7 separate regions of the Homo sapiens genome follow, and all the other regions are linked to region 5. The links are contacts of gene promoters, found by promoter capture Hi-C in blood cells and fetal thymus (Javierre and others, 2016). All regions are on one chromosome and are shown on one strand. Each heading gives the region's core, a stretch centred on a gene start or on the middle of the fragment in contact. The rest is flanking DNA. Distances are from core to core; before and after follow the strand shown. Region 1 has its middle 150 kb from the start of UST. Region 2 overlaps PPIL4 (peptidylprolyl isomerase like 4). Region 3 has its middle 18 kb from the start of SUMO4. Region 4 has its middle 39 kb from the start of SUMO4. Region 5 holds the start of UST-AS2 (UST antisense RNA 2). Region 6 overlaps PPIL4 (peptidylprolyl isomerase like 4). Region 7 overlaps PPIL4 (peptidylprolyl isomerase like 4).

What was found. The method cuts DNA at HindIII sites, captures the fragments that hold promoters and counts their contacts. A CHiCAGO score of 5 or more calls a contact.
Region 1: a contact is called between a fragment that was not itself captured here and the fragment with the promoter of UST-AS2 in region 5, in 2 of 17 cell types (naive B cells and M1 macrophages). The highest score is 5.7, in naive B cells.
Region 2: a contact is called between a fragment that was not itself captured here and the fragment with the promoter of UST-AS2 in region 5, in 17 of 17 cell types (activated CD4 T cells, megakaryocytes, total CD4 T cells and 14 more). The highest score is 59.5, in activated CD4 T cells.
Region 3: a contact is called between a fragment that was not itself captured here and the fragment with the promoter of UST-AS2 in region 5, in 17 of 17 cell types (naive CD8 T cells, activated CD4 T cells, naive CD4 T cells and 14 more). The highest score is 44.2, in naive CD8 T cells.
Region 4: a fragment that was not itself captured here is called in contact with the fragment with the promoter of UST-AS2 in region 5 in 17 of 17 cell types (naive CD4 T cells, total CD8 T cells, M0 macrophages and 14 more); the score reaches 59.1 in naive CD4 T cells.
Region 6: a contact is called between a fragment that was not itself captured here and the fragment with the promoter of UST-AS2 in region 5, in 17 of 17 cell types (megakaryocytes, endothelial precursors, erythroblasts and 14 more). The highest score is 23.9, in megakaryocytes.
Region 7: a fragment that was not itself captured here is called in contact with the fragment with the promoter of UST-AS2 in region 5 in 16 of 17 cell types (naive CD4 T cells, activated CD4 T cells, total CD4 T cells and 13 more); the score reaches 19.6 in naive CD4 T cells.

The regions. Positions count from the first base shown.
Region 1 is chr6:148,591,584-148,595,374 of GRCh38, reverse strand. No RefSeq gene overlaps it. Among named protein-coding and RNA genes, the nearest start is that of UST, 150 kb to the left of the region's middle. The HindIII fragment of the contact is 5,455 bases long and covers 1-3,791 here.
Region 2 is chr6:149,518,576-149,522,201 of GRCh38, reverse strand. It overlaps PPIL4 (peptidylprolyl isomerase like 4), which reads left to right. Exons shown (of 13, transcript NM_139126.4): 10 at 1,031-1,142. Among named protein-coding and RNA genes, the nearest start is that of PPIL4, 26 kb to the left of the region's middle. The HindIII fragment of the contact is 3,012 bases long and covers 133-3,144 here.
Region 3 is chr6:149,416,832-149,420,404 of GRCh38, reverse strand. No RefSeq gene overlaps it. Among named protein-coding and RNA genes, the nearest start is that of SUMO4, 18 kb to the right of the region's middle. The HindIII fragment of the contact is 4,936 bases long and covers 1-3,573 here.
Region 4 is chr6:149,437,248-149,440,998 of GRCh38, reverse strand. No RefSeq gene overlaps it. Among named protein-coding and RNA genes, the nearest start is that of SUMO4, 39 kb to the right of the region's middle. RefSeq lists an enhancer at 1-359. The HindIII fragment of the contact is 9,116 bases long and covers 1-3,751 here.
Region 5 is chr6:149,030,939-149,034,393 of GRCh38, reverse strand. UST-AS2 (UST antisense RNA 2) reads left to right here and starts at 1,733. Exons shown (of 2, transcript NR_134599.1): 1 at 1,733-1,869. The region is part of intron 7 of UST (uronyl 2-sulfotransferase); the gene reads right to left. RefSeq lists an enhancer at 1,140-1,329. The HindIII fragment of the contact is 1,599 bases long and covers 1,340-2,938 here.
Region 6 is chr6:149,501,996-149,505,447 of GRCh38, reverse strand. It overlaps PPIL4 (peptidylprolyl isomerase like 4), which reads left to right. Exons shown (of 13, transcript NM_139126.4): 13 at 1-953. Among named protein-coding and RNA genes, the nearest start is that of ZC3H12D, 19 kb to the right of the region's middle. The HindIII fragment of the contact is 254 bases long and covers 1,981-2,234 here.
Region 7 is chr6:149,534,657-149,538,225 of GRCh38, reverse strand. PPIL4 (peptidylprolyl isomerase like 4) reads left to right here. Exons shown (of 13, transcript NM_139126.4): 5 at 2,488-2,630; 6 at 3,452-3,548. Among named protein-coding and RNA genes, the nearest start is that of PPIL4, 9.6 kb to the left of the region's middle. The HindIII fragment of the contact is 1,412 bases long and covers 920-2,331 here.

The sequences.
Region 1 (3,791 bases), core at 1,245-3,744, 440 kb after region 5:
GGAAGAGGAATGACAATGAGGATGATGGAATAGGACTTTCTTACAGGGATTAAACCTTACACAAGTGTGGGAGGAGCTGGAAGTAAAGGTCTGACATGAGAGCTGGAGGTTCTGGGAAAATGCCCTATGCAGCCCTCCTGAAGCACTGGGACAGATGGGCAAGTCAGCACTTGCAGGGATTCCGGGAAGCCAGCAGATCCAGATGCTGGAGAGGAAGGACAGTGGAGAGCTGATGGGGAAGTCCAGGCAAGATGTTGCTCCTACACCTGGTGGTGGACCACAGTCGATGCTGGTCAGCAGGGCCAGCTGGCAGGAGGAGGGGCTGAATGCAGAGCAGGGAAGCATGATGACCACTGGCAGTAACTGGCATCTCAGCATCTGTTTTTACTGAGCATGCTTTGGCCAACTTTCTTTTGGCCAATTCTAACTCAGAACCATACTGGGAAGGGAATTCTGTGAAACATAATTCTAACCAGCCGAAGTTAACACAGTATAAAGCCACTGTAGCATAAGATAAAGTTAAGAAACAGGAATAAGATGGGAACTACTCTCCTCAAGCAAGAATAATGGCCAGAGGTGTAACCGTCACTTCATGGTTAAAACAATTAACGCAGATATGAACTCTCCCGCTAAGGTGAATCAGGCTTATTTGGACCTTTCTGTTGGGCCTACATGGGTTTTCTAAAGGCCACAAATCCAGGCATCAATAGGCCTGGCCACAATACAAGCAGCTGAGAGCCAATACTATCCACCACTTCTCTGCATGCCTCTGCAAGTTTGTAACTGTGCAGATGCACGAGTAACAGTTAAGGTCACCTAGTCATTCATTCAGCGTGGATTCATGGAGCATCGATGTGCCAAGCACTGTTCCAGAACCTGCAGCTATGGTAGTGAACGCAGTAGACCCAGTTTCTGCTCCATGTCTGTGAAGGGGATGGGAGATAGGCAATTGTCGATATTTGTCCATACTCTATGTGGGATGGAGGTAAGAGCCATAAATACAAAGAAAGGCTCATGTTGACTTTTTATTATTTGTGCAAATTTATGGGGTACATGTGAAATTTTGTTACATGTATATAATGTATAGTGATCAAATTAGGGTGTCCATCTCCTGGGTGCAATACATTTTTGTTTAACTATAGTCACCCTATTCTGCTATCAAACATTGAATTTATTCCTCCTACGTAACTGTATGTTGGCAGGGCACAATTTTAGAGAGGGATCGGTGATGCTGTTTTAGACACGGCAAGCAAGGAAGGCCTTTTTGAGGAGGAAGTTGATGAAGAATGGAGCTCCGTGGCTCTCTGGGAGGAAGGTCACAGGAACAGATGTGCAAAGGCTCAGACAGTGGAAAATACTTCACATGCTCGAGGAACCCCAGACAAGAGTGACTGGAGCAGCAAGGGTCAGGAGGAGACGGAGAGGATATGAGGTCAGAGACCATGGTTAAGACTTAAAATTTCATCCCAGTGGGAGTGAAAGTCCCCTAAGGGTTTCAGCAGCCACGTGGCCTCCTCTGAATGCAAGGGAAATGGAGCCACTCCTGCCCAGTCAGAGTTAACTGGAGTTTTATGTATGGCTTACACTTGTACCGCTAAGTAGAGGTACAGAGGGAAAATTTGGGCGATAATTTAACTTTTGACTGGATGAAGGCACGGGGGTGTCAGAACGGCTCATTTTTTTCCCTAGATAATTTAGTTTCACAACCATGCCTTGTAACTGGCTGAGGGCCTTATCTGTCAGAAACTTAGCCATCCGGCTCTACAAATGAAATCTCATGAGCTCTCACTCCTCATCTGGAGCCTGGACCCCTCAATGGGGCCCCAGGCAGCAGGGCAACAGCATCATGTCAGCATCATGTCAGCGTCCTGCCACCCCTCTCCATGCAGCAGAAGCAGACGGGAGAAAGGGCGGCGACTCCTGTAGAGAGGGGGCTTAACCCGTGAGCGTGAGAGGCAGTGGTGGAAGTCATTTGCTAAGTCAGAAGAGGCCCAAACATAGGGAAAAGGTCGTGTGAGTATAATTTCAACTTCCACTTCCATTTCACGGCCACATGCCACTTCTCGTAGTCATAACAATGTTAAAACTGGAACAAAATAATCGTTTAGGGAACTTCAAGTCCTATAAATGATCAAACTGTGCTGAGCAGTGCTAGGATTCCACAGAGGTGACTCAGGGACACTCTGGAGAATGTCACTGGATGTGAGGAGAAGCCCGTGGGTGGACAGAGGGTCTCCTCCCTTCCAAGCCCTACCCTCTGCTTCCATCTATGCTGGATTGGCTATTTATCTAAGATTTTGCTTCAAGGAAGAGTTTTGGCGCCAAAAAGTAAACAACAACAACAATAACAACCAAAAAAAACAGATTCTGAGATTAATTAGGACTAACTATGTGCCAGGCACTCCACTGAATTTTTTTTTACAAACATTATCTCATTAATCCTCCAATAGCCCTATGAAGTAGATATTATAGTCCTATTAATGAGAAAATTAAGACTTAGTGGAGTTAAGTAAATTTTTCATGTCTCACAGTACTGCAAAGCCAAGATTTGAACCCAGGCCAACTCATCTGACACCTCAACCTCAACTCCTAACTTTTATGCCATCCTGAAAAAAGAAAACCTATCAACCAAGGTTATTCTCATTACCATTCAAGGAAATGTCTTAAAATGTTTAGAATAGCCATTGTGTTCATCTGCTTGGGCTGCCAGAACAAAGTATCACAGACTGCATGTCTTAAACAACAGAAATTTATTTTCTCACAGTTGTAGAGGCTAAGAAGTCCAAGATCAAGGTGCTGGCAGATTTCGTGTCTGGTGAGGACTCCCCTCCTGGATTGCAGATGGCACCTTCTCACAGTGTCCTTTCATGACCTTCCTTGGTGCACACGTGTGCAGAGAGAGAATGCTGATATATTTTCCTCTTCTTAAAAGAGCACCAGGCCAGGCGTGGTGGCTCACGCCTGTAATCCCAGCACTTTGGGAGGCCAATGCGGGAGGATCAAGAGGTCAGGAGATGGAGACCATCCTGGCTAACATGGTGAAACCCTGTCTCTACAAAAAATATAAAAAATTAGCCGGGTGTGGTGGCACGTGCCTGTAGTCCCAGCTACTCGGGAGTCTGAGGCAGGAGAATCACTTGAGCCTGGGAGGCAGAGGTTGCAGTGAGCTGAGATCGCACCATTGCACTCCAGCCTGGGCAACAGAGCGAGACTCCATCTCAAAAAAAAAATTTAAAAAAAGGTACCAGACCTATCAGATTAGGGACCCATATGTGTGACCTCAGTTAATTTTATTACCTTCTCATAGTTGCTATCTCCAAGTATTGTCACATTGAGGATTAAGATTTCAACATAAGAATTTTGAGGATACACAAATATTCAGTCCTTAACAGCCATAAAGGCTAATATAATACTGACACTTATAGAGCTTTCACTATTTAATATATCCTTATGTAGTGCTTACTCTAAGCAGAGCCCTATTCTAAGTGTGAAAATATTGACTCATTTAGTACTTCCAATAGCCCCAGGAGGTAGTTGCTATCAATATTTTCAGATAAGGAAAAGACTGAGGCACAGAAAAAATGATTAATTTGTTCCCTAGTGGTGAGCAGTGATGTAAACCTGTCAAATACTTCACACACACACACACACAAAAAGTTTAATCATCCCTCAGCCTCCCTGGGGGATTGGTTCCACAACTCTGCAGATACCAAAATCCCTGGATGCTCAAGTCCCTGATACAAAATGGCATAGTATTTGCATATAACCTGTGCACATCCTTCTGTATACTT
Region 2 (3,626 bases), core at 389-2,888, 490 kb before region 5:
TAGCATGGTGATAGAATTATACCTGCCTGAAAATAATCAGTCAGATTCATGAAACGTACACTGATTGCCTACGTTTTAGATACCATGCCATATGATGTTCTAAATGATGTAGTTACAAAGACGAATCAAGCTTTGTCTATATCTTCATGGATTTTATAATTCATTTAATTATTGACATGTAATAAATATGATTATAACTATTTTATCTGCTTCTCTTTGGATTATCTCTAGTAAGAATAAGTTTCCAGGAATGTAAAAGAAAATTGGTCAGTACTGAGTTGAAATATGTAACTGTCAGTGTCAGAAACAGGGATTTAGAATTGTGAAGTTACTGACAGGAAGGATTCTTGTGTAGCACAGAGCTTGGTATTACAGTCTCACAGTTCATTATCTAAAACCCTTGAGAATAACTAGGCTTCCTAATTCAGAATTTTTCAGAATTCAGAAAGGTAATACTGTATATATGCATACACACATACACATTACATCTGTGATTATGTAATACCTTTCTGGGTCAGCATTCCATAATCTGTCACAAAAGTATTTCTGCAGTGAAACAAATGAATATTCATACTAAGTGGATAAAAAAAGGTCATAACCTACCATTAGGTTTGGTGTTACTGCCAAATTAATTTTAACAACAAACTTAGGAACACAACTTTCACTTTCCAGGATGTTTTTGAATTTTGAGTAAAAAGGATTGTGAACCTGTATAATACAGTCAGTAAGTGTATATTTATCTGTTCACTGCAGTTGGACTGTCTCTCTAAAATCCTGGCTCTGACCCTTGCCAACAACTTCTATACTTCTCTAAACTTCTGTTTTCTCATTAAGAAAATGGATAGTACCTCATGGGGTTGTTACCAGAGGTATTTGAGGTAATAGATACAAAGCATTTAACAGCATCGGGTGTGTAATAAGTATTCAAACATTAATTTTTGTAACAACAAACTTTTTGTATTTTCAGTATTCTAGCTACAGAAATCTTTTCCATAAAGATTTATGCTTGAGTTTTTATAATTATTATCAGGAAGAAGATTGTGAGAAAGCATTCTTCAAAATGGACAATGTGCTTATAGATGACAGAAGAATACATGTGGATTTTAGCCAGTCGGTTGCAAAGGTTAAATGGAAAGGAAAAGGTATGATGGTTTATCTTTTGTTTTTGTTCTGCTTTTTTTTTTTTTTTGAGATGGAGTCTCGCTCTGTTGCCCAGGCTGGAGTGCAGTGGCACGATCTTGGTTCACTGCAACCTGTGTCTCCCAGGTTCAAGCCATTCTCATGCCTCAGCCTCCCAAGCAGCTGGGATTACAAGCATGTGCCACCATGCCCAGCTAATTTTTGTATTTTTAGTAGAGATGGGGTTTCACCACGTTGGCCAGGCTGGTCTCGAACTCCTGACCTCAGGTAATCCACCGCCTTGGCCTCTCAAAGTGCTGGGATTACAGGCGTGAGCCACTGCGCCCGGCCTTGTTTTTGTTATGCTTTTCATGCTTGTATGAGCCTTTTATTGAGTGCTGTTAATTAGGAGAAATATTAATTGATGTAACTCCTGCCATTTGTAATTTTACAAACCTGCTATCTAGAATCTGAGGTAGAGTGTGTGTGTGTGTGTGTGTGCACACACATGCATGTGTGCACCTGTGCGTGTATTTTAAACTGATGAAAAATTATATTTTCTATGTTTGACTATATTATAAATTACTAATAATTACCCACTGCAGACATGATATGTTTCCAAAGTAATTATTTTGACTTTATGGTGTTTTGAGTCTTTTAGGTGCACAACTTAAATTTTTTTTGTTTGTTTTAGTTGTCATATGATGCAAAATAGAAAAGGTCCATGGAAAGGTAGATAAAAGTCTCATTCATTCCTGCTCCTCATCTATCTAATTTCTCTTCCAGGGTAACCATTATCACCTATTGGTACTAACTTTCCCCTACATTTTTTGAATACATATGTGCATATATATATATATGATTTTCTCCTTTTAAAAAGGAAAATATAAAACAAAGGATGCAGGCTATACATACTGTTTTTGTACCTTGCATTTTTTAATTAACAGTGTATCTAAGAGATCAGTTCATATCAGTATATAAAATGAACCAGCCCTGTTAATGGGTTTTCTAAATTTTTACTCTTCCATGTCCATAGCAGTATGTTCCACCTTTGTACATATTACATTTCCCACATACACATACATATATGTCAAATACATTGCTCGTAGCATGTCAGTCTTAAAAGTTGGGTCTCTCATATGTTGAAATAATACGAGTTTTTGGTTTTTGATGCAGTGTTTTTAACAGGTTTCACTTTGATAGTTACTCACATGTAATGCTAAATTTTACTGGGAATTTCAGGGTTACTTTCTTTTTCTATAACACTTATTTCCCATGCTTTTAATGAACTGTTTTTTTTGTCTGTTTTTAGTAAGAAAGAAAAACACTATTTAGTTGTGAATTGCTGAATTGTTTGGTGGATTCTGTTACCTTATGGGAGTTCAGAGAAGGAAGAAATTATTAATGTGACTAAAGTAGGCAAGGAATGTTGAGTGGAAGCTGTGATCTCTGTGATAAAGGAGAGGGTGACTTGGATTGGAGTTCCATGTACTATTAGTTTCTCCTGTGAAACCTTACCTCCTCCTAGAACACATGGCTAGTTTTTGACAGTGCTGTTTGAGTGATTTGTGAAACCTAAATTGAAGCACTAAGATTTTTTTCCACATATGAAAATTACAACTTTGTGAATGAAAGATTCCAGTAAGTATATTCAAAGTGTTGGTGAGCTGCTGGCCTGATGCAGTGTAGTTCTGGCCAGTAGTAATGCCAGGTGGCTCTTATGTAGAGCTCTGCTTCCAAAGAGCTAGTTTAATTGTATCATTTGGGAAGTGTATGAAATAAATATTATAATTCCTCATTATAGATATGGAATTTGAGGCATAATCTTGAGAAGTGATTTACCTAGAGTCACATACACAGATGATTTAGACAGACCCTACATTTGGTTTGTTTTTTACCCTCTCAATCCTGTCTTCTTCTCAACCCATCCACCCATTGAATAAATACTACTACTTTCTTGTGACTTTTAAATAAATTTCTTCATGTTTTTTCCTAAGATAAAATGTCACATAGGAGGGAGAAGCTTTGGTTTTGTATATGCCATCATAAACATACAGTTTATTATTCTCAGTTAATTTTGAGATAATTATATATGTTATTGATTCACATTTATAAACTTAATGTGTATAATGTGCCATTCACAGCACTAAGAACTTTCCTTTATAGTCTGATGATTCCAGCAACTCTGTGAAATGTTGGTATTATTTTCAGTTTATAAATGAAGATAATGTAAATAAAGATAATGAATTGCAGAGAAGTGGTGTCTTACCTAGGACCTCCCACTACAGTCAAGAACCTCTTACATTAATCTGGTGCCCTTTCTGTTATACGGTAACTGCTTCATCCATAGTGAGACTTTTAATGGCAGGCAGATGGCAAATAATTTTTCAATGATAAATGATGGCTGTTTGTTACCATTACCAGTTATTTTAACTCTTGCAGTAGACTGTTTCACATTTATGGGAAACATTGCTGGCCACTTTTGTTTCTGGAGTCTCTGGAATTGC
Region 3 (3,573 bases), core at 802-3,301, 390 kb before region 5:
ACGTTCTATAAAGTCTCCACAAACACTGATTTAGCAAAGAGTGAACAGCGACTTGCTCCTAGAGGAAACGCAGGGTTAGGTTCCCACGAGCTTCTGCCCACGATATTTTCACCAGCCCATCAATACATGGCCTAGTTTTACGTGTTTCTGTTTCAAGACACTTTATTCATGAACACTGAACTCATAACCAACAGGGCTACAGCTCGCGCATGAACAAAGCTCTCTGACACATGTATTTTCTCGCTAAGGCCCATCCTGGCATTCTTGGGCTTAGAACACTCGACAGCATTTCCGCACAATGTTGAGGGCATTTTAAATGGCAAAATCACCAATACAAATGCAAAAAACATATCCCTAAATAGACTGCAGAAAGGACACTTGGTTCACAGTACAGGAGCTGACACAAGAGGCAGACCATTGTGTAGCTTGACCTGAGATGGGAATATGACCATTGGGTGACTCAAGTTTGTCACTGTTCTACCCATATCTGCAAAGGACTATGAAAGTGCCATGACCATTTTTAGTGAATAGGGAAATTCACAAACGAATCCACAGATAATGATTGACTGTACTTGCATGCTTATTTCTCCTTTATAAGCTCTAAGGTGGTGACTGTCTCTCGTGTCATCAAACACACTGCCTGACCTATGGCAGGAATGTGATACTGAAAAGCATTTGGGGAAAATCATAGAAAAATTAAGCTAGACCCTGTCATCAAATTCATAACGTAACAAAATTTGTTGCCCACCTACTATGTGCCAGACCTAAGCTGGAAGCAGGGTATAAAGCAGTGAAGAAAATGAGAGAATGTGGCTAAGATTAGGAAGACTAGCAAAAGGAGGAAGTAGCAAATTCAAAATGTGAAATTTTTGAAATATAAAGATGATTGTGCAGATTGAGAACTGAGAAATTACTATTGCTACCTTAGCACAAACTGGAATCAAAAGGACAAAATGACAGTTGGCCTAAGGTTTTCAGTGAGTACTACTTATTCTTTACTCGTTTCCAAATTTGGGAGCCCCTTGTTTCTTGTAATGTGAAGCCAGTAGTTACCTGTTAACTGTTAGCATATTAATAATAAACAGAGGCCAGGCGCAGTGGCTCATGCCTGTAATCCCAGCACTTTGGGAGGCCGAGGTGGGCGGATCACTTAAGGTCACGTGTTCAAGATCAGTCTGGCCAACATGGTGAAACCCCGTCTCTACTAAAATACAAAAATTAGCTGGGCATGATGGCAGGTGCCTGTAATCCTAGCTACTCAAGAGGCTGAGACAGGAGAATCGCTTGAACCCAGAAGACAGTGGTTGCAGTGGGCCGAGATCGCGCCACTGCACTCCAGTCTGGGTGGCTGAGCTAGACTCTGTCTCAAAACAAAAACAAAACAAAACATAATAAACAGTAGAAAAGAAAGAGATTATGGTTAATAAAGAGAGCAATACAGGTGGAAGTTTAAAAATCTTTGCTGTGTGTTTTTGTCATTCGATATTGAATATAATCATGCTTTGAGATACTTCATAACAAAAATCACCTATTATCATTCACTGGAATGGAAACTGCATATATTGCTTCTCATTCATTACCTTAGCAGAGCTTGGTTGTCTGGGTTAGCAAATTGGTGTTCTAAGATGTGTATGCTGTTTTATTACAAAAAGAATTTGGCAGTTCAGCAAAAGGGCACGTGAAAGACTTGTGTTAAAAACCAAAAGGTAGTAGTTAAGACTTCAATTCAGATTAATAAAATGTGGGCTTGTTTCATGTCACTCACTCTCAGGCAATGTGTTGGCTATCAGACCCAGTGGAGTTTAACCAGTGAGAGTCCCTGCTCTCTGCTGCTCATCGTTTAGTCAGAAGCCTGTCTCTTCACCTTTCTTGGGAAAGAATAAGACAGGATTTTTACATACTTTGCATTTAATTTTCTTCTTTCTTTCCTCTTCTCTTGACCAGTGTTCTCCAGAAAAATATTCTCCCATGTCCCTCTGCTTCAATTTTGAAGAAAAACAAAAAAGGACATTCATTATGTCTAAGAAGAAGCCACTCAAACACTTTGGTCCATGAAAAAGCAAACTTTAAAATTTGAAGTAAAGTTAGATGTAACAGAGGCCTCAGGTTGAAATGCCAATTTCTGAATTTTCCAGAATATCCACAAAGATCTCTACTTCTTCATCCCCCTCTGGCACCACACAGAAGATACCAGAAACATTATTTTTGGGTTTCATTGTTACATTTATCTATCCCAATAGTATGATTGTGCCTTATTTCAGTTTTCCAAATGCAAAGCGTTCCAGCTAATTAGTGGGCTGGCCTGGGAACCTACTGCTTCTAATACTAGTTCTAGGGGAAAATACATACTACATTCAAAATGGCTGTACCCACTGGTTAACTTGAATAAATGTTAGAAATTAACTTGGCCTTCATGTTAAGAGTCGTTATCATCAAGTCTGGGTGCGGTGGGGCACGTTTGTAGTCCCAGCTACTTGGGAGGCTGAGGTGGGAGAATAGCTTGAGCCTAGAAGTCCAGGATGGGCAAAACAGTGATACCCTATCTTAAATAAAAAAAGAATCATCATCAACTACTGACCTTTTGCCATGTATGAAGTTATTTGCTATGGGGACACAAAGACACACCTGTCCTGACAGTCATACCTTGGAGATATTGCAGGTTTGGTTCCAGACCACCATAATAAGGTGGGTATCACAATACAGTCAGTCACATGAATTTTTTGGTTTCCCAGTGCACATAAAATTGTTTACACTATTCTGCAGCCTATTAAGTGTGCAATAGCATTATGTCTAAAAACAAAATGTACATTCCTTAATTAAAAATACTTTATTGCTAAGAAATGTTAACAATCATCTGAGCCTTCAGCAAGTCATAATCTTCTTGCTGGTGGAGGGTCTTGATGGCCGCTGATTGATCAGGGTGATGGCTGCTGACCGATCAGGGTGGTGGCTGCTGAAGGATGGGGTGACTGGGGCAATTTCTTAAAATAAGACAACAATGAAGCTGGCTGCATCGACTGACTCTTTCTTTCATGAAAGATTTCTCTGTAGAATGTGATGCTGTTTGGTAGCATTTTACCCACAGTAACGTGGAGTCAATCCTCTCAAACCCTGTGGCTGCTTATCAACTAAGTTTATGTAATATCCTAAATCCTTTGTTGTCATTTCAATAGCGTTCACAGCATCTTCGTCAGGAGGAGATTCCATCTCAAGATACCACTTTTTCTCGTCCATAAACAGCAACTCTTTATTTGTTCAACTTTGATCATGAGAGTGCAATTCAGTCCCATCTTCATGCTCCACTGTTAATTCTAGTTCTCTTGCTATTTCCACACCTGCGGTGACTTCCTCCACTGAAGTCTTGAACCCCTCAAAGTCATCCACGAGGGTTGAAATCAACTGCTTTCAAACTCCTATTAGTGTTGATATTTTGACCTCCTCCCATGAATCATGAATGTTCTTAATGTCATCTAAAATGGTGAATTCTTCCCAGGTTTTCAGTTTACTCTACCCAGATCCATTAGAGGAATCACTATCAATGGCAGCTATAGCCTTATGAAATGTATTTCTTAA
Region 4 (3,751 bases), core at 1,153-3,652, 410 kb before region 5:
GAGGTCCTGAGTGGACGCCTGTCCCGGAGGCTGAGTCACTTGCTGAAGGCACAGGGGGAGCTGGTGGCCCTGGGGCCTTTGTGTCAGTTTAGGGATTTCTACAAAAATATCCTGGTTCATTCATTCATTTATCCAGCACGATATGTGAGGCCCCTGCTATGTGCCCTCTGTTCTAGGACCTGGGGAAAGTCCTGCTGTCACAGAGCTCACCTTCTGGTTCAAAACAAAGCTCGGGTTCATTGTGCACATTCCTTCTACCCTGTTTCTGAATCACCCCGGGATGCTCACAACAGCCTTTGGGATGTGCGCCATTAATTCCATCTCATAGAAGAGAAAACTGAGGTGCTGGAAGCAACTTGCCAAAGGTCGGTTTTGTATTATCTTTATGGTTACTTAGGCTAAAAAGAATTCGGTGTAAAGAGTAGTATGAATGCATTTATAAATAACTCTAGGGGCTGGGTGTGGTGGCTCACGTCGGTAATCTCAACACTTTGGGAGGTAGAGGCGGACAGATCACCTGAGGTCAGGAGTTCGAGACCAGCCTGACCAACATGGAGAAACCCTGTCTCTACTAAAAATGCAAAATTAGCCGGGTGTGGTGGCACATGCCTGTAATCCCAGCTACTTGGGAGGCTGAGGCAGGAGAATCTGTTGAATCTGGGAGGCGGAGGTTGCAGTGAGCCAAGATTGTGCCGTTGCACTTCCCCCTGGGCAACAGGAGCAAAACTCCGTCTCAAAAAAAAAAAAAAAAAAATCTCTAATCTGCATGAAAGATTGGTTGGTTAGCATTTGAAGGCCCCTAATAGGGGTTTCTCTCTCCAGAGGAGGGACCTTAGGAGCCTAATAATTGTTACAGAAATAGATGCTAGAATCTTGTTAATGAGCAGAAACGACATGAGAAATAATTTTTCATTGTTGAAAAGGGGGATGTTCAAAATATGTGCTTAGCTGGCGCAGGCCTCAGACCTACACACAAACCTGTGAAGGTCTGCCAGTAGTGCTTTGGTCTCTTTCTTTTGCTGGCAGAATGAACTGAGGCTGGGCTAGATGGGGGAAAAGCAAGGGGTTGGTGGACTGGGATTCCAGGCTGCTTTTCAGCTTCTGAGCTGCCTCTTCCCACTGACCTCAGCAAAACAAGATATAATTAACCCCAAATCCCACCCCCACCCAGCTTGAATCAGGAAGAGATAGAAATCTTGAACAGACCAGTAAAAAGCAGTGACATTGAATGAGTAATAAAAAATCTCCCAACATTAAAAAGCCCAGGACCCAGTGAAATCACAGCCGAATCCTACTAGACATTCCAAGAAGAATTGCTACCAATCCTACAGAAACAATTCCAAAAGATCAAGGAGGAAACCCTCCCTAACTCATTCGATGAAGCCAATATCACCCTGATAACAAAGCCAGGAAAGAACATAACAAACAAACAAACAAAACTACAGACACTATCTTTGATGAACACAGATACAAGAATCCTCAACAAAGTTCTAGAAAAGTGAATCCAACAGCACATCAAAAAGATAATTTACCATGATCAAGTGGGTTCCATCCCAGGGCCCTGGGATAGTTCAACATATGCAAGTCAATAAGTGTGATTCACCACATAAACAGAATGAAAAACAAAACCATATGATGATTATCTCAACAGATGCAGAAAAAGTATTCCATAAAATTCAGCATCACTTTATGATAAAAACCCTCAACAAACTGGGCACAGAAGGAACATAGCTCAAAATAATAAATGCCACATACAACAAACCCACAGCCAACATCATTCTGAATGGGGAAAAGTTGAAAACATTCCCCCAAAGAACTGGAACAAGACCTGGATGCCCACGTTCACTACTTCTATTCAACACAGTACTGAAAGTCCTAGCCAGAGAAATCTGGCAAGAGAAAGAAATAAAGGGCCTCCAGATTGTAAAAGAGGAAGTCAAACTATCTCTGTTTGCCATGATATGACCTTATACCTAGAAAACCCCAAAGACTCATCCAAAAGACACCTAGATTTGATAAACGAATTCAGTAGAGTCTCAGGTTATAAAACCAATGCACACAAATGAGTGGCACTGCTATACACCAGCAATGAACAAGTTGAGAGTCAAATCAAGAACTCCACTCGTTTTATAATAGCTACCAAAAAGGCCGGGCACGGTGGCTCATGCTTGTAATCCCAGCACTTTGGGAGGCTGAGGCAGGTGGATCACCTGAGGTCAGGAGTTCGAGACCAGCATGAACAACATGGAGAAACCACATTCTACTAAAAACACAAAATTAGCTGGGCATGGTGGCACATACCTGTAATCCCAGCTACTGCAGAGGCTGAGGCAGGAGAATCCCTTGAACCAGGGAGGCAGAGGTTGCAGTGAGCCAAGGTTGTGCCATTGCACTCCAGCCTGGGGCAAGAAGAGCAAAACTATGTCTCAAAAAAACAAAACAAAAACAAAAACAAAAACAAAAACAAAACAAAACAAAACCTAGGAATATACTTAACCAAGGAGATGAAAGTTCTCTACAAAGAGACCTATGAAAGAAAGTAGATGAAAGAAATCATAGATGACATAACCAAATGGAAAAACGTCCCATGCTCATGGGTTAGAAGAATCAATATTGTGAAAATGATCATACTGCCCAAAGCAATCTCTAGATTCAGTGCAATTCCTATCAAAATACCAAGGTCATTTTCCACAGAATTAGAAAAGCCCTCAACCTAAAATTCACACGGAACCAAAAAGAGCCCATATAGCCAAAGCAATCCTAAGCAAAAAGAACAAATCTGGAACAAAAGAGCAATCCTAAGCAAAAAGAACAAATCACTACCCAAGTTCAAATTATATATTACAAGACTATAGTTGCTAAAACAGCATGGTACTGATACAGAAATAGACACATAGACCAATGCAACAGAATAGAGAACCCAGAAATAAAGCCAAATACTTACATCCAACTAATCTTCAAAAAGCACACAAAAACACAAACTGGGGAAAGGATATTCTATTCAGTAAATGCTGCTGGGAAAATTGGATTGCTGCCTTTAGAAGAATGAAACTGGATCCCCATCTCTCACTGTATACAGAAATCAACTCAAGATAGATACAATACTTAAATCTAAGACCTGCAACCATAAAAATTCTAGAAGAAAACCTAGGAAAAAGTCTTCTGGACAGGCCTAGGCAAAGAATTTATGACTAAGACCCCAAAAGCAAATGCAGCAACAACAACAACAAAAATAAATGGGACCTAATTAAACTAAAAAGCTGCACAACAAAAGAAATTATCAACAGAGTAAACAGACAACCTACAGAATGGGAGAAAATATTTGCAAACTATGCCTCTGATAAAGCACTAATATCCAGAATCTACAAGGAACTAAAATAAATCCGCAAGAAAACAACCCAAATAATCACATTACAAAAGTAGGCAAATGGCATGAACAGACATTTCTCAAAAAAGATCTGCAAATGACCAACAAATGTATGAAAAAATGTTCAATGTCACTAATCATCAGGGAAATGCAAATTAAAACCACAATGTAATACCACTTTACCCCAGCCAGAATAGCCATTACCAAAAAGTCAAAAAACGATAGATGTTGGCACTAATGTGGTAGAAAAAGAATGCCCACATCCTGCTGGTGGGAATGTAAATTAACACAACCTCTAAGGAAAGCAGTATAGAGATTTCTCAAATAACTAAAAGAAGATCTACCATTCAATCCAGCAATTCCACTCCTGCGTATCTACCGAAA
Region 5 (3,455 bases), core at 484-2,983:
AGGGCAGGTTGGGATGGAACTGACATACTTATCTGGTAATTAATATTTAAATAATACCAAAAGTAATACTGAATGCGGCAGATCTAATGGCACATACGAAAATTTTGGCACATACGAAATTTTTGATAGGTACAAATAAATCTAGGCAAATAAATGAAGGCAATAAATAATTCCAGGAAAAACAATTAAGTTGTGCAAGAAATGAAACAAAATCATGATGTACTACTCTGATCAGCAGCCAACAAAATGTATATAGTCACAGCAACGTCAGCAGGACCATGCATCTCAAATGTGGGTATGACCATCTTAGGAAGATGGAGAGGAGCAAGGAAGTAGAAGTAAAGGTAATGGAATAAGAGAATGAGATCATGACCCCAGTAAATCAAGAAACAGCAGCCTGTGCATACTAGTTACAGATAGCGCGGTGATTATCCGAAGAAACATCTAGCTGCGCTGAAAGTGATTGGCTCTGCAACATCAGACTTCATCTTTGGGAGGGTTGGAATAGGAAACTGCTGGTTTTCATTATACATCTTATAGGACTATTTGATTTTTAATTATATACATGCATTACTTAATAGATATAGCAAAAAATGCAGGGAGGTAAAATCCTAGGAACACATGTTTTGAAAAACAGTTCTGGTAGAGTCTGGTTGACAATGCAGCAGAAGCATCTAGAAGCGTATGCTATGGTAAAGACGAGGGGCGGGGTGAGACCTTCAAGTCAAGTGAAACTACCCCACCTGACAAACAACCCTCTCTTCTTCTCATCAGTGTGGGATTATGTTGGATTTTTCTATGCGTTTGTAGGTAATGAAATGAACGTGCTTACTAGAACCCACAAGAAACCACACATAAAAATCCCCAGCAATGTTATATACACAGGTATATTTCTAGCTTTTTGCTGTATTCTTTCACAATTCTGTGCCATTTGCAAGATGTGAAAAGCTAGGACATTATGTATTGATAAAAATGTCTGAGACATGAAAAATATACAGACCAAGAAATATTTTTATTTGAAAAAGATTTAGCCAGACAAAAATAGAAGCTTCCATTATAAAATGTTGAGTCATGCAAAATGGGTAAGGATTGTACTTCGCCCCGGCAGGGGGTACATTTTATAAGCAAAGAATGTCAGAGAGCTAAGGCCACGAGCCAAGGGCCCAAAGACAGTTTTGAAATCCTTTGTCTAGTGCTCTTTCCACATCACCACATTAATTCCTGGGGTGGACAGGGACCTTGACAATTTAAGCATAAAAGAACAAACTGACCACAAGGTCGTTTTTATAAAGATCAACCATCAACCCCTGGGGTCAAGTTTCCAATCTTTGCTCAAGCTTTAGAAGCCTTTCAGCTTTGTGGCGTTATCAGGAAAGTCCAAAAATTGAAATTTGTGGTGACTAATTCCACCCCCTACAAATACTCAATGCAGAGCATATTACTGTCAGCTCAGCTAAAAACTGCTCAAAGTAGAAGTGATTAAATTCTAAAGTAGAAAAAAATTCACCTCCAAACACAGAAACACACTGGTACCTCCCCCGCACACCCAGATATTATTAGCCAGCTTTTTGCCTGGGGAAATGAATCATGAGACAGAAAACTGTACAACCCCCAAGTCTGACCACACTGAGTAACTGGGGTAGACACAGAGGGGGGCATCTGGGGCTCTCCCGAGGCCAAGGTTGGGACCCAGAAGAGATGAATTTCCCTGGGTGCACAGGGTGGGAGGGAGGTGGGGCTGGAAGAACTTGATCTGGAGGGATGATCCCGAAGGCTCCCAGTGAAGAAGGCCAGGAAGAGCAGAGGATGGTGCCAGGAGGATGATGTCGGGGGACACAGGCAGCTCATGCCTGGATCAGGCAGTGACTGGTAACAGAAGGAGAGTCCATGCTGGTGGGCCCAGGGGAACATAGGTGGTCAAGCAGGGCAGTACTTGGTGTCTGGGGATGCAGTGTGCGACCTCCTGTATTCGGTGCGAGGCACATGGGGCCAGCAGGAGCTGGTGTGAGCCCGGGTCTGAAGGGTGGTGGGATCTTAGTGGGGAAGACTGGGAAGACAGCAGGGAGGAAGAACTCAGGCTGGAGGAGGATGGGGGCCTGGGAGGATCCCTGCCACACTGTTAGGAAGCCAGGGAGCTTGGGTGGTGGTAGGATGGGAAGAGGGCAGGGAAACGGGGGGAGGGTGACACAGGCCCTCCGGCAGCAGCGGCTTGGCCACTGGCGCTGAGATTGGTATGAGTGACTCAGTGCCAGGTTGCGCCACAGAAAGCTGAGGCTGCGGATCCTTCTCCTGCCTCTGGTAGGGCCGTCTTAAAGGCAGGGTGAGTGAGCCTGGCTCCAAGAGGCTGGGTCCGCAGGCAGGGGCTGACGTGGGCTGGCCCAAGCCCCAGCTCTCCTCACTCTGAGTGCTTCTATGCTTTCTCACCTCCACGCTTCCAATCATGTTATTTTCCTCTTATTAAAATGCCTCCTTCCACGTCCACTTGGCAAACTCCTACGCACCCTTTAAGGCCGGGCACAAATGTCTCCACAGGGTTATGCGCCCCAGCCCTGTTAGTGACGGCCTTCCAGCTAGACAAGATTTTCATCTTTATACTGCCCTTCCCCAGGAAAGGGACATCACAGACACTCAGCTATTTATTTGCTGGAGGTGTTTGTTGAATTTTTCTGGTAGTTTCAGATTACACCTATTTAAATATTAGTTTTCAGAGAAGAGAAATATTTTTGTAAAGTTATTCCTAGAACATCAATGTCTGTGAAGGAAGTTCTATTTTCCTGTTAATCTTTCATAATAAAATTGGAAATGCTTTCTCCTGGAGGAGAGATGATCCCAACGCAAGAACAAATCAGTAAGCAAGAGTAAAACATGTTTTCCAATAAAACAAAGAGTAATAGTTGAAATAGGCCAAACGCACATATATTATGCTGCAATTTAAGCTTTCATAAAGTAAATTAAACAAGCCTAGAGGCTGAATTCTTGTGAATTGGTGATGTTTCTGTAAACTGAATGATGTTATCAGCCTGTGGTTATACAGTTCCCCTCAGAAAAATGTTCACTAAAAAAAATCACAAGTGTTTAGAAGTTAAAGGGGTTTACATTATGTGTTCATTTTTAATGAACTATTTGCCCAGTAGCTACAGCTGAACCAGTTATATGCCTTCAGCTTAGACTTTTTTTTTTTTTTTTTTGAGATGAGTCTTGCTCTGTGGCCCAGGCTAGAGTGCAATGGCTCGATCTCAGCTCACTGCAACCTCCACCTTCCGGGTTCAGGCAATTCTCCTGCCTCAGCCTCCTGAGTAGCTGGGATTACAGGCATGTGTTGCCATGCCTGGCTAATTTTTGTATTTTTAGTAGAGATGGGGTTTCACCATGTTGGCCAGGCTGGTCTCGAACTCCTGACCTTGTGATCCACCTGCCTTGGCTTAACAAAATGTTGAGATTACAGGCATGAGCCA
Region 6 (3,452 bases), core at 858-3,357, 470 kb before region 5:
GAAGAGGCAGAATTGAGAGGCTAACATATTTACTCTTGTCTAACTTAAGAGTGCCAGGAAAGCAGATGCTTAGATTTTGTGTCAAAGCTTGTTATTTTTTTCATACTAGGATTATGGTCTTTAGATTAATACTGATTATATAGAGCACGGAAAGATAAAGAATTGAACATTTTCTTTGTATACTTTTTTACACTAATTTTATTGTTATACATAAATGGTAGTCTTCATTTTTGAAGTCTTACATTTTCACTCTTTTTTTAATGAAGTATTTCATACTACAAAAATACATAAACGTATATATAAAGGGATAATAAATGTAAATATCTGTGTACTCATCAGCCAGCTTAAGATACAGATGTTGTCGACATTTTAGAAGTTCCCTAAGGCCCTCTCCCTCTCAAATAATTATTTGGAATTTTGTGTTTGTCATTTGTCTATTATAGTTTTACAACATACGTATGTATCTGTAAGTGAAATGTTAATTTTGTATGTTTCTGAATTTTATATAAATGGCAAAATGTTTACTTCTGTGACTTTCTTTCATTTTTATTGCTATATAGTATTATATAAATATACTACAACTTATTCATTCTTGATGGACATTTGAGTTTTGTTTATTTGTTTTTGCTGTTGAAACAATGCTGCTGTGAACATTGTATCTAGCAGTTATATTGCTTGATATATTGATAAAATAATGCCAAATTTGTGTTCTGAAGTGACTGTACTAGTTTATACCTCTCTTGGCACTGTGAGTTACCTTTGTTTCATAGCATCTCCAACACTTAAGTTCAGACTTAAAAATTTGCCAACCTAGTGGATGTTAAGTGGTATCTACCTGTGATTTCCAGCAAGATTACTGTTATCTCTGCTCTTCCATGTGTAAGATGTCATTTTTTTCCTGGCTGCTTTTAAGGTTTTCTGTCACTGGTTGTAAGAAGTTTGATTATGATGTGCTTGCTGTAGTTTTTTTTTCACGTTTCTGCTGCTGCAGCTATTTTACCTGTGGGTTTATGGTTTTCATAGAATTTGGAAATTGGGGGGCATTTTTTCTTCTGTTATGGTTTTCTCTCTGCTCCTCTCATGCTTCTCCTGGGGCTCTGATGACTTGGATGTACGTTAGGCCCCTCAGAATTTTCTCCCAGTGTGCTGATTCTGTGCAGCTTTTTAAAAAGCCTTTTTCTCTCTGTGTTTCATGTTGGGTACTTTCCAGTGCTGTGTCCTCATTGTTTATTAATCTTTCTGTCTAAAGTATCTAATTTCCTTTTAATCGTATCCAGGTATTTTTCACCTCCGACATATTTTTAGTCTTTAGAATTTCTGTCTGGGTCTTTATCTCCCATGTGTCTCCTTCACATGCTCATGCCTTCCTCTATTTTTTTTTTTTTCAACATCTGGAGTGTATTGATAATAGCTCTTTCAGTGTGCTTGCCCATTCTGTCATCTGCATCATTTCTGGTCTGTTTCTATTGATTGATTCCCACCCTACCCCAACCCCCACCCTGCCCATATTGGATTGTAACTTCCTTCATTACATGCCTGGTAATTTCTGTTTTTAATATTGGGTGCTGGAGTTCTTTTAAGTATCTTGAACTCTGTTTGGGGACATAAAGTTACTTGGAAACAATCCGATCATTTTATAGCTTGCTTTTAAGCTTAATAAGACAGGACTGGGACAGCCTTTAGTTTAGGGCTAATTTGACCCACTACGAAGGTAATACCGTTCTGAATAATCTTCCTGGTTACACGGTTTCTGCATTCTGTCTGTTGGGAACATGAAATATTCTGAACCCTATTGAGCTCCCAGTTGTATCTCCTGTTCCTTACCTCACATGCATACACTGCTTGGTGTTTAGCTGAAGACTTAAGGGAAACCCAATATTCTGCCCTGCAAATCTTACCTTGGCTCCCCTAAATTCTCTACCCAGGGAGGTTCCCTTCCCTAGCCTTAGTGCCACAGCTTAGAAACCCCATGTAGAAGCTTGCGCAATTATAGGGCTTTCTTTGTTTTCCATCTCTCAGGAGTCACTGTCCTGCACTGGCTTTTGTCTAACATCTGAAAAACTTCCTTGTATACATTTTATATAGGTTTTAATTTAAGGTGGAGAAGGTAAATCGTGCCTCTGCTACTCCATTTTGACTAGAGTGGAAGTTAACTTTGTATTTCCTAAATGTTAATGAGGCTGAGCATCTTTTCCCATGTTTATTATTCATTCCTTATTGCTCTCTGAAAAGCTTGTTTCATGTCTTTTGCCCATTTATATAGTAGTAGATTGTTGTCTTTTTATACTTAATAGATTGTGGATACTAAGAATAAGTTAAGGAGTGCTGTCTCTCTCTCCTTCCCTCTGTCTGTTCTCTTGGAAGAAAAGAAAAACATTTAAATTAATCTGTTCCTTAAAAGCTGGATAGAGCTTGCCTATAAAATTGTCTGAACTTTGCATTTTTTTGTGAGAAAATTTCTTAACTATTGATTAGGTTTCAAAAATTATAGAATTATTAGCCTTTCTATTTCTTTAATGTTAGTCATTTTTATTACATTTTTCTGGGAATTTGTTTTCATTGACGTTTTTATTTTTTGATAGCATTGCGCATAGTTTAGCTAGATTTTTCTATCCTGCTTTGTTGATGAATGTCCTTATGTTTTAGTGTGTCTCATAAACAGCATATAGCTAGATGATGATGATGATGATTATTATTACTATTTTGAGACGGAGTCTCACTCTGTCACCCAGGCTGGAGTGCAGTGGCGCAATCTCAGCTTACTGCAACCTCCACCTCCTGGGTTCAAGCGATTCTACTGCCTCAGCCTCCTGAGTAGCTGGGACTACAGGTGCTTGCCACCAGGCCTGGCTAATTTTTTTTTCTTTTTTTTAGTAACAGGGTTTTCACCATATTGGCCAGGCTGGTCTGGAACTCCTGACCTTCTGATCTGCCCACCTCAGCCTCCCAAAGTGCTGGGGTTACAGGTATGAGCCACTGCACCCGGCCAATTATTTTTAAATCTAATCTGAACTTTAACTGGTTAGTTGAGTGCATTTTTATGTGTACTGATGTATTTGCATTTATTCCTTACCACCTTATTTTGTGCTTTTTATGTTTTTTTCTTCCACTCTTTTTTTTTCTTTTGGAATCAAAAATGTTTTTTAATTCCACCCTCACCCCTCTGCCCCCTCTTCTTTGTTTTGGGGGAATTTCCTTGGAATATTACATCCGTACTTAAAAAGTATAATGTTATATCTTTATCTTCCTCTCTAATTGAGAGTCTTGGAACTCTCCAAGTCACCCCTCTTGCAACTTTCGTGTTAAAATCATTCAGTATTTTAGTTATAGCTTGTGATTTTTCACCTTAAAATTAGACCTTGAGCTGGACTCAGTGGTGCACACCTGTAGTTCTGGCTCCTGAATGGCTGAGGCCGGAGGATCCCTTGAGGCCAGGAGTTAGAGGCTGCAGT
Region 7 (3,569 bases), core at 376-2,875, 500 kb before region 5:
GGTGCAGTCTCACCTCACTGCAACCTCTGCCTCCTGGGTTCAAACAGTTCTCTTGCCTCAGCCTTCTGAGTAGCTGGGATTACAGGTGTGCACCACTACGCCCGGCTGATTTTTTGTATTTATAGTAGAAATGGGGTTTCACCATGTTGACTGTGTTGGCCAGGCTGGTCTTGAACTGGCCTCAAGTGATCCACCTGCCTCAGCCTCCCAAAGTGCTGGGTTTACAGGTGTCAGTCACTGTGCACAGCTGAAAACAATATTAATTTCCTTGTACATCATATCCATCAGAGCTCCTGGGTGACCTGGAGTATTGTCAATGAGCAGTAATATTTTAAAAGGATTTCTTATTAAAAGAGCAGTCATATTTAAAAGGATCTTTGTTCTGAGCGGCAGGTCTCAACAGTGATCTTAAAATATTTGATAAACCCTGCTGTAAACAGATGTGCTGTCATCCAAGCTTTGTTGTTCCATTTCTAGAGCACAGGCAGAATAGATTTAGCATCATTCTTTTTTTTTTTTTGAGATGGAGTCTTGCTCTGTCGCCCAGGCTGGAGTGCAGTGGCGCAATCTCTGCTCACTGCAAGCTCCACCTCCAGATTCACGCCATTCTCCTGCCTCAGCCTCCCAAGTAGCTGGGACTACAGGCGCCTGCCACCACGCCCGGCTAATTTTTTGTATTTTTAGTAGAGACGGGGTTTCACCGTGTTAGCCAGGATGGTCTTGATCTCCTGACCTCGTGATCCACCCGCCTCGGCCTCCCAAAGTGCTGGGATTACAGGCGTGAGCCACCGCGCCCGGCCGATTTAGCATCATTCTTAACGGCCTTGGGATTTTTGGTATAGTCAGTGAGCATTGGTTTCAACTTAAAGTCACCAGCTGGATTAGCATGTAACAGAAGAGTCAGCTTGTCTTTGAAGCTTTGAAGCTAGGCATTGACTTTTCCTCTCTAGCTGTGAAAGTCCTAAGTGGCATCTTCCAATATAAGGCTGTTTCGTCTTCATGGAAAATTTGTTATTTCATGAAGTCATCTTCATCAGTGATCTTAGCTAGATCTTCCAGATAACTTGATGCATGCTGCAGCTTCTTTTTTTTTTTTTTTTGAGACAGATTCTCACTCTGTTGCCCAGGCTGGAGTGCAGTGGCATGATCTCAGCTCACTGCAACCTTCGCCTCCTGGGTTCAAGCAATTCTCCTGCCTCAGCCTCCTGAGTAGCTGGGATTACAGGCACACGCCACCATGCCTGGCTAACTTTTGTATTTTTAGTGGAGACAGGGTTTCACCATGTTGGTCAGGCTGGTCTTGAACTCCTGAGCTTGTGATCTGCCTGCCTCGGCCTCCTAAAGTGCTGGGATTACATAGGCGTGAGCCACTGCACCTGGCCACTTGCTGTAGCTTCTGTGTCAGCACTTGCTGCTTCACCTTGCACTTTTAAATTATGGAGACAGCTTCTTTCCTTAAATTTTTCTTTTCTTTTTTTTTTTTTTTTGAGATGGAGTAATTCACTGCGCCTGGCCTCTTTCCTTAAACTTCATGAATTAACCTCTGCTAGCTTCAGACTTTCTTTTGCAGCTACCTTCCCTCTCTCAGCCTTTATAGAATTGAATAAAGTTAGGGCTTGTTTGGAATTAGGCTTTGGCTTAAGGGATCGTTGTGGCTGGTTTGACCTATGTAGATTACTAAAACCTTCTTCATATCAGCAGTAAGCCTGTTTCATTTTATCATTCATGTGTTCACTGGAATAGCACTTCTAATTTTCTTTAAGAACTTTTCCTTTGCATTTACAACTCAGCTATTGTTTGGTACTAGAGGCCTAGCTTTCCGCTTATCTTGGCTTTCAACGTGCCTTTCTCACTATGCTTAATCATTTTTAGCTTTTGATTTAAAGTAAGAGATGTGCCATTCTTCCTTTTACTTGAACACTTAAGAGTCTCTTGTAGGGTTAATTGGCCTCATTTCAGTATTGTGTCTCGGGGAATAGGGAGCACTGAGAGGGAGAAAGATGGGAATGGCTGGTTGGTGGAGTAGTCAGAACACATACAACATTTATGGATTAAGTTCACCATCTTATATGGGCACAGTTTGTGGTGCCCCAAAACAATTGCGGTAGTAAGATCAAAGATTATAGATGGTAATAACAGATACAATAGTAATGAAAAAGTTTGAAATCTTGTGAGAATCACCAAAATGTGAGCCAGAAACATGAAGTGAGCCTATGCTGTTGGGAAAATGGCACCAATAGACTTACTCAATACACGGTTGCCAGAAATCCTTAATTGTAAAAAATGCAGTATCTGCAAAGTGCAATAAAATGAGGTATGCCAGTATAAGCTTTGTACTTTTTACTTAGTTTTGGTAACAAGTGTCTAAGAATTGGTGCAGTAAATGTGGACTCTTAACTTTCATGTATTTTTTTGTCAGTCTGTAACTGATTTCAGTTTGAGTTATGTATTATTTTTATGGTATTTATTATGTGTCCTTCTTTATAGTTTCTTATCACCACAGGAGAAAATCTAGATTATCTTGATGGTGTCCATACGGTGTTTGGTGAGGTGACAGAAGGCATGGACATAATTAAGAAAATTAATGAGACCTTTGTTGACAAGGACTTTGTACCATATCAGGATATCAGGTATGGTTACAATTTGCTATCTGAATGTACTAGAATGTTTTAATATTGAGATGTTTAACACGTAGTGGTATGGATAGGAACGGTATGCATAGGACTGGTTTCTGGATAATTCTAATCCCAAAAGGTGAATTAATATAAGACTGTAAGAATCTTTATAATAAAAAGGACTTTTTGTATTTTTATACTTGTACTAATTATTTATAATTATGTTTGGAGGAATTATTTATTTATTTATTTTTTGAGACGGAGTCTCATGCTGTTGCCCAGGCTGGAGTGCAGTGGCGCGATCTTGGCTCACTGCAAGCTCTGTCTCCCGGGTTCACACCATTCTCCTGCCTTAGCCTCCCAAGTAGCTAGGACTACAGGCGCCCGCCACCACACCTGGCTAATTTTTTGTATTTTTAGTAGAGACGGGGTTTCACCATGTTAGCCAGGATGGTCACGATCTCCTGACCTCATGATCCACCCACCTCAGCCTCCTGAAGTGTTGGGATTACAGGAATGAGCCACTGCACCCAGCTGGAGGAATTGTTAATGCTTTAATTTAGTTTTTTAATTGAGAAGTAGGGCAAAAGTACTAAGATTTAGACAGTTATATTAGTTTACATCTTAAAGTAATGCAGGGTGATAAATATGGTATCACTCAATGCAAAACAGTAACACTCATTGTGAAAGTATATCTAGGTTAGTAATATCCATATGCAATATGGGTTTTTTTTGGCCTTAGAGATAATCAAGTAATTTTTTGTAATCTATTAAAATAAAATAGGATTCTGAAATAACTTCAATGTATAACATTTGATTTGGATTTATTTTGTAAGGATAAATCATACGGTGATTTTAGATGATCCATTTGATGACCCTCCTGATTTATTAATCCCTGATCGATCACCAGAACCTACAAGGGAACAATTAGATGTAAGTAAAGCCCTCTTATGA